3 separate regions of the Homo sapiens genome follow, and regions 1 and 3 are each linked to region 2. Evidence: promoter capture Hi-C in 16 types of primary human blood cells and fetal thymus (Javierre and others, 2016). All regions are on one chromosome and are shown on one strand. The core of a region is centred on a gene start or on the middle of the fragment in contact, and the rest is flanking DNA. Distances in the headings are between cores, read along the strand shown.

Region 1 (2,700 bases), core at 174-2,673, 2.7 Mb before region 2:
ATTAACTTTGAAAATGTTTTAAATATGTTAACGGTATTATTAATTTGACCCTACACACGACTAACAAAAAATAGGATGTGACTCTACCTTTCAGTCACCAACTCTGTACAAATCTAAATGTCATTGTCATACCGACTTTTGTTCTGATATACCACCGGCTTCTTTAGGAATCAAAAGTTTTTATGCAAACGCAAGCAAATGAACCCAAGTTACACCTCTGAAGTTTAAAGAGCACAAAGAGGTTCCCATCTGGGAGATTCTGCCGGAGAAAGAAAAAAATGATGCACAACAAGTACCATGGCAAAACAGAATATAAATGTCGAGGGAAAGGAGTGACTAATCAGTTACATCAAATCTGTTTTGAAGAGATGGAAAGTGACTTACAACTGTGAAACAACCTTCTCAGCCACCATGGAAATGGAACCGCACAATAACAGAGCAGAGACTAGCTTAAAAAGTCTTGTGAGAAGAAGGTAAGTGAATTAGGTTTTGGATTAGAGGAGTTATCTAATTCTGGATTACTAATTCAAATATAATCTAATTTTGGGTGAGTTACTCCTACCTGCTTAGGTATGAGTAATGGTAAACGAGATGAGCAAAACGGGAAAATACTGAGGGCATTAAGTACCACCCTTAAGTTTAAATTTGCTATAATAGAAACATCCTCAAACTATATTATCTGAGCAAGTGTTAAATAAAATAGCATCCTAAAAGCCAGAGAAGTGTCCAAGCAGAAGCTAGACAAGAAACCGTCAAAATCAGAGCATCACTGTAAGCTCTGAATAACCATACACTTGCAGAATGGATCTACTCATTTTCCTAGGGGAGAATCAAATTAATTGTACTAAATAACAATTAGTAGCTGATACAATAGAATCCACCACAATTATAGTTTAACAAACATATTAAGGGGAACTCCAATACTGCCCTCAGTTCACATTTTTCAGGGCCATACCTGTTGTCTTTGATTTCACACAGTAGTCCCTGTATAACACAATTTTTTTTCCCACTCTCTTCTCTGAAAAGCTTTTCTTTGTTTTATTGGATCAACCAGAACAAAGTATAAACTGTATCTAGGCATGAAAGCCTGAAATACTGTTTTCTTTCTTACTAAACTCCAATTAAAAAAACCTTAACCAAAACACAAACTTAGATCTGCAGGGGTAGACGTACAGGTTGCTCAGAACAGTCTTCCTAACGTTACTAACATTGCCAAATATTTTGCCTCAGATTTTCCACTCAACTTTCATAAACGTTCTCAGCACCCAAATAATTGTATTACCCCAGTCATTCATTCTACCTTTAGGTTCAATGTTTTCATTTTGCACTTTTCATCCTGAGCTTGGGACATTTGAAAAAAATTAATAGGTACAGTATTTTCCTTGAGATGAAATCATTTGTTTTCATCAATGCACATGCAGATATGTTTGTATATATTCTCGTCCGAAAATATCCCTTCACGAAACTTGCTTTTTAAAATGTTGCCCTTTGCCCACCCTATGCTCCTATAGAATATTTAGTTCAGTGACGACATCCATCCTCTTTTGGCGTCCTAGCACAAAAGTATGCAATTTTTATTCTCTTTTAAATAAACTGTGCAAAATTAATTTTAAAAATACGGTTTACAATTCCTCATGAATGGCAAAGAGCAAAAAAAAAGACGTTTACATCTTTCGACAATGATCCCGGGCATTAAGGCCAACAATGTTAGCAACGAAGAGACTGGGTAAAAAGAGGTGGGCTAATCTTTCATAGGACTGCTTCCGTGGTCGCTAACAACAATCCGCCTGCTCACTGGACAAGCAGCGACACAAGCTCTGGAAGCTTCCAGTTCATTTCGAGATTCACAATGCGGAAGAAAAAGGCCGGCAGCCCCGCTCCGCGGTGCGCAAAGATATGCGCGAAGGGAGGAGGACAAGCTGGAGGCGGCTCAGCCAGCTCAGAGAGGCCGGGTGGGGATACGGGGGCGGCCGCGGAAGGCGCAGGCTGCAGCCTGCCAAGAAAAGGGAGCGAAGTTGCGGGCTTTGCCGCAGCCCGACCCCCAGTAGGTTTTGAAAACCCCCAATAGGAAGCCCGCACAAGGTGACGACCCTTAGAGTCTCGACTCTGGGACTCCTCTCACCCCCGTGAATCCCTGAGACAATCCCTTCTCCAATTTGTGATGGCAAGCCCCCCATCCCTCCTCTGGCCGGGTCGCTGGTCCCTAGTTCCACGGAGGGGTGCGCCGCTGCCCAAACGCCTCCGTTTGCCGCGGTGATCCGTACAGCCAGCCCGCGATCTTGGGTCCCCACACTAAGGGCCCAGAACCTCCTCCCATCCACCCTCGCAGACTCCCACTTACGGGGTGCACCGGTCGCTGAACTCATTGGCGATGGTCTCGATGCCCCCGGCCCGGGCTACCGCGATGTAGCAGCTCTGCGAGCCCACGTCCAACCCCACCACCGACATGGCCGGCTCGCGGTCCGCCTCCGCCTCGGGTCTCGGTCTGCGTCCTCCGGCCCCCTGCCTGCTTCTCCTGCCGCCGCTTTCTGCCCTGGCCGCGTTCTGCTCCGGCCCGCGGGGTCTGGCCGTTCCTCTGACACTCAGAAGGACACACAGACAGCCGCGGCCTGTCAGGAGCCTCCTACTCCCCCGGGGACAGCGGCGGCTGGCTGATAAGAAACCCTGGGAGAAAGCGGGGCTCAGCCTCCGCAGGTCGCT
Region 2 (2,700 bases), core at 6-2,505:
CTCATTTCAAACACTTCCTCCATTTCAATTCCAAAGGAGAGAAGCATAAAGAAGATGAAGCTTTTTTGCAATATTAAATAGGGTGGTCAGGGAAGCCTCAGTGAGGAGATAATACTTGAGCCAACATCCTGAAGGAAATGAGGGACCCAACTCTGCTGACTGGAGAAACATAGTCCAGGAAGAGGAAACAGTAATTGCAAAGGCCCTGAGGCAGAAGCCTTCCAGGCTTATTATAGAAAGTTTCTCGAGAACAGGGATTAAATCTTATACTTGGTGGTGTGGATAATACCTTACCTGCAGGAGTAATTCATGTAATATGACGATTCATAGAAGAACATGATAAATTATTGATTAATAAATGAGTAAGAGGCACCTTGGTGAAAGGTTATTAAGTATATTTGGAAATCATTTCCTGCCTGTAAGACCTTGCAATCAAATGGCAGGACTTAGGGTTCTTAATAATACATAAAATAAAAGCATAAATTAAATAAGGAATTAATATTATGTACAATGAGTAAAGTGCATTTTGAGAGGCACTATTTGAAGAGAACTTCAAAAGTTGCATATCAACTTCATATGCAGAATATTTTTCTGAGGGGTTCAGATGCTTCTACACATTTTAATTGGAGGGCTTTCAAATATTCTAGACTTAGAATGCATATTAACCTCGTGTCTTCTCCCCTACAGACCACATTTGGGTAGTTTTTCCATGCTCTTGATTCTTTTGTTTCTAATCCAATAAGAATATTGAGGAATAGAGGTAACAAAGGATAGTGAAGATCAGACATTTTCAAGCGATTCATCCAATGAAGCTTTACTGGGTACCTGCCAAGTGAGTGAAACCCTGAGATGTATATATTCTAGTGCCGAGGACAGAGTTCCACACCTAGCAGATATTTAGTAAATTTTTGTTGAATGAATTAAGTGAATGAAAGAATGAATAAATGAAAGGAACGGTCTTCTCTGAGGTATCTGGATGTGACGCCAAAAGGGTCAGAACCACATTTTCAATTCCGCTTGATAATTTCTAGAATATAATAGACGGTGCGAACAAAGAGAAAATAAATAAAGCAGTGAACTTCAGAACTAGAGGGCATCGACGCGGCAGCTGATTTTGTCTGCACACGGCCCCCGTAGCCTTTCCGTCCAAAATCATTTACGCGGCCGCGACCGGTAGTGACGTCACGAGATTTGGAGCTCGCGGGAAAACTTGTCTCTGCGTTGTGGGGAGGACGCGCGCTCGCGCGGGATTTTCAAGCGTAGGCCCCCGGGAACTCGAGCTGCCATGAGCCTCTGGGTGGACAAGTATCGGCCCTGCTCCTTGGGACGGCTGGACTATCACAAGGAGCAGGCGGCCCAGCTGCGGAACCTGGTGAGTCTGCGGGGGCCGGGAGCGTGGGAGAGGGGAGGCCCCCCGGCTCGGGGTTTCGCGCCCCCCTGAGGAGCAGTGCTTCTCCCGCCCGCATTGGAAGGTGATAAGTGCTATGGAGAAAAATAACACAGGGAAGGGGGAAGAGGTGTGGGAGGCTGGCTTGTATTTTTAAACAAGAAAAGCTCCACTGAGAAGTGGCATCTGAGCCGAGACTTGAAGGAAATTGAAAAGTCATAAATACAGAAATCCGAGCAAAGAGTGGAACAGGTAAGAGGGGACAGCAAGTGCAAAATTCCCGGGCAGGGATGTGCACGGCATGTTCTAAGAACCTCAGGAGGCCGGCGTAGCCGATAGTGGTGAACCAGCGGGAAGGGTAATCGGAGATGGGTGTATGTGTTGGGATGGAGTTGGAGTGCAGACCCAGTCAGTCTCAGAATAAGACGAGAAGCCGTTGGAGCATTTTGAGCGGAGATGACACCATGTGATTTACTTTCTAGCTGGCTTAAGATTTCTCGATGTCATTGTCATTTACAAGTAAAGTGTTGTAAATATGTATTTACTCCAAAGATCGTTTCTAATTCTCAAATAAATTGTATTAGGACGTTCCTGAGATTAGTTTTTTTTTTTTTTTTTTTTTTTTTTGAGACGGAGTTTAGCTGTTGTCGCCCAGGCTGGAATGCAATGGCGCGGTCTCGGCTCACTGCAACCTCCGCCTCACGGGTTCAAGCGATTCTCCTGCCTCAGCCTCCCGAGTAGCTGGGATTACAGGCGCCCGCCACCACGCACAGCTAATTTTTGTATTTTTCAGTAGAGACGGGGTTTCACCACGTTGGCCAGGCTGGTCTCGAACTCCTGACCTCAGGTGATCCGCCTGCCTCGGCCTCCCAAAGTGCTGGGATTACAGGCGTGGGCCACCGTGCGTGGCTGAGATTAGAGCTTTGTGAAAGATCCTCTCCCCTCTATCCTGATGCCTCTTTGTCTGTTGTAGTTGATAAAAGTGCCCAATGGCAATATTTTGTGAGAACGAACTGAATCTTCCAGGGAGTAGAGAGTAAAGAAGGATCTTTAGGAGAATAAAGTGTCTGTGGAAGACATTTATCCACTCCTTTTAAGGAACTCAAATTAATATATGATGCTGATGGAAACGTTTTTGCCCAATACCCTGGTTTTCCCTTCCGACCTTTCTTAGATTTACAGATACTATTTAATTAAGTGCGTCTTAAAAATAAGAAATAATAAGAAAAGATTGTACACGTAAAAATCATTAGACTAGTTGATAGTGTTGTGACATTGAAGGTTTTTTTTTGGTCTCTTTATTGATACTGCAT
Region 3 (2,700 bases), core at 49-2,548, 2.6 Mb before region 2:
AGACAGGCTTTATATCACTCTGTGTCTTCAAATGTCAATGGCTTCAGATTTCTGGGCTTTCCTGGGGGGTCTGCTGAGATGGTAACCTGTTATATTTCCTGGATTTTGGTTCAGGGTTGTTAGGCTGTGAGAATCCCTTTGTTAAGCTTCTTTGAATAAAAATCTTGGTTGAAAGTTTGGTTTGACAGAATGGGTTTTGCCTAAATATATATATATATATATATATTTTTTTTTTTCCAGACAGAATCTCACTCTGTCGCCCAGGCTGGAGTGCAGTGGCGTGATCTCGGCTCACTGAAACCTCTACCTCCCCAGTTCAAACGATTCTCCTGCCTCCCCCTCCTGATTAGCTGGGATTACAGGCGTGCGCCACCATGCCCAGCTAATTTTTATATTTTTAGTACAGATGGGCTTTCACTACATTGGCCAGGCTGATCTTGAATGCCTGACCTCAAATGATCCACCCGCCTCAGCCTCCCAAAATGCTGGGATTACAGGTGTGAGCCACTGCACCTGGCCTTGCCTATAATTTTTGAATAGCTTTGGAAGCAATGTGAGACAAGCTCCCTGAGGGCATTAAAGAAACCACCGTATGTCATCAAAGGATTCTTCCTGAGTACATGCAGTGGGGCTGTGGCTCTGGGTCCTCTCTGAGTGATGAAAGTTTTGCTCCCTCTCTTCTCTTCCTGTCTCCCTCTTCTCCACGGGGATCATAGATTATCTTCCTTCCCAAAACGCTAAAGCGTAAGGTACAAGTGATGAGTCTTTCTCCTGTAACCCCCTAGTGTGCACTGATTGTGGGGTGTGAGGATGGTGAGCAGATGATTAAAGTACTGTAGCATAGGTCTGATATTATAATGACCTTAAGTCCCGGAGACCCTGTTTTAGACATTCTATTTTACTATTAAACCTTAAGACCTGATTTTAGGTTTGGAAAATAATCCTCAAGACCACTCATAATTCATAAACCTGCTGTTTTATGCAGGAAGAGAATAGTCCTCCTGAATTGTGTTGACTGCTAATCCACTTTAGGCCTGACACTGAGTGAAAGGGCACCGAGAGTGGGAAGAGTTGGAATATGCCCTTTGGGCTTTGCTAGTATAGAAACAGGGTGCCTGGGAGGCCCCTTCCAAGTCACAGGAGAGAGGCAGCAGGCTGGAGGGGGCACAGTGAGAAGCTGTTCCTCCTTGCAGCCCCTCTCCCCACCCGCCACACTACTGTTGATTTGCACATTCGTGCTGTGCCTCAGCCTGGGGCGCCTGTCCTCCTTTCTCAGCTCAGGAACCTGCTATTTCTCCTTTAAGATCCTGTGCAACAGTCGCTTCTTTTCTTACAGATTCCAAAGGCCCTGAGAGATTTTTTTTTCCCTGTGTGTTCCAAAGTGTGCTGATCTACGCATGCCATAGCATTTATAAGAAGGTAGCAAAGTTAGTTATGAACATTTTTGTCTCCCAAACTGGACCGTGAGTTCTTGGGCCCAGGACCATGTTTTATGCTCTTTAATATCTGCCCCAGAGCTTAGCAAAGGGCACATCAGCTAGAGGTGCTCCCTATCATTTGAATGAATGGAGTTCAGCCTTTTGGGCCTCAAGGATAACTGTTGTAAGATCAGAAACCATCTGTTTGGAACTTGTTCATTAGATTATTTGGCTCTCAGTGGTTTTAGTATGTCTTTATGTTCTCCTTTAGTATTTAGAAAATTATCTGTAAAATTACCAGTCTGTTTTAACCAGGTTGCGACAGTGCCTTCCCCAACAAAAGATGGCTCCTTGCTTCTTCCCCTGTCCCTCAACAAAGAAAGTTTCAGGGGCCAGCATGGAGGTGACAGCTGGGATTGAGTAAATCCCAAGAAGATGGCTTGCTTGTTTTCATATCACAATCTTAAAGTTTATAGGATTTATTTTTTTTCTACTTAGAGTTGTTCCTTTACAGTCAATGTTATAGGCAAGCAGTGCCTATCATGTATCTGTTAGTATCCTCATCAGTACGTTGCTCTAGGAAACTCTCCTGACATGTGATTGGGAGAGAGAACTCCCAGCAAGTCCATTTATCATATGACTAGAGTAAGTGAAAGGCAATTCTTTTTAAAATGTGAGTTATGGAGCTTTGTAATGTGCCATTTATCTATGTCTACTGTGGAAAGGAAGGACACCAGGGCAAGTTTATTACTTAAACGGTGTGTTCTCTGTTGTCCTTAGGGCTTAATTTTCCACACCTTGTTCTGGAACATAGTAATACTCTAACATGATGAATTTCCATGAAAACATTGATTAAGCACCAGGAGTTGCTTACCCACGTGGAGTAGGCATTTGACCCTGCTTATTAGTCTTCTGTGTCTAATTAAACAGTTTGGTTAAATGTTTACTACCCCACATATGCAAGGAATATTTTCTTGGAAAAAAGCGAAAACAGCTTTGGAAATTGGAAACAATCTAGAACTACTAGGCAGGTAAGCTTGAGAATTTCCCAAGGATAAAAGCAATGAATTCAGTCAACCATAGATTTGAAATGCTTCACTAAGAAATGAAATGGAAGGATCCCTACATTTCTTTTTCCTCCCATCAAAATGGTATTGACAAGAGACCATAAACCTTGGGCGAATGGAACAAAAGGGAACTATTTGCACTCACACTAAATGGATCACACGTGAAATATTTAGTTCCCAGTTTTAAGAAGTCAATATAAACCACACAGAGAGAA

The links. Contacts are between HindIII fragments. The CHiCAGO score rates a contact against its expected background, and 5 or more counts as called.
Region 1: a fragment that was not itself captured here is called in contact with the fragment with the promoter of RFC3 in region 2 in 1 of 17 cell types (naive CD8 T cells); the score reaches 5.4 in naive CD8 T cells.
Region 3: a fragment that was not itself captured here is called in contact with the fragment with the promoter of RFC3 in region 2 in 1 of 17 cell types (total CD8 T cells); the score reaches 5.2 in total CD8 T cells.

What each region holds. Positions count from the first base shown.
Region 1 is chr13:31,159,135-31,161,834 of GRCh38, forward strand. HSPH1 (heat shock protein family H (Hsp110) member 1) reads right to left here. Exons shown (of 18, transcript NM_006644.4): 1 at 2,342-2,700. The coding sequence starts at 2,448. Among named protein-coding and RNA genes, the nearest start is that of HSPH1, 1.4 kb to the right of the region's middle. RefSeq lists enhancers at 1,864-2,409, 2,410-2,700, 2,567-2,646. The HindIII fragment of the contact is 798 bases long and covers 1,025-1,822 here.
Region 2 is chr13:33,816,894-33,819,593 of GRCh38, forward strand. RFC3 (replication factor C subunit 3) reads left to right here and starts at 1,256. Exons shown (of 9, transcript NM_002915.4): 1 at 1,256-1,372. The coding sequence starts at 1,286. The HindIII fragment of the contact is 2,489 bases long and covers 811-2,700 here.
Region 3 is chr13:31,195,983-31,198,682 of GRCh38, forward strand. No RefSeq gene overlaps it. Among named protein-coding and RNA genes, the nearest start is that of B3GLCT, 2.6 kb to the right of the region's middle. The HindIII fragment of the contact is 2,308 bases long and covers 145-2,452 here.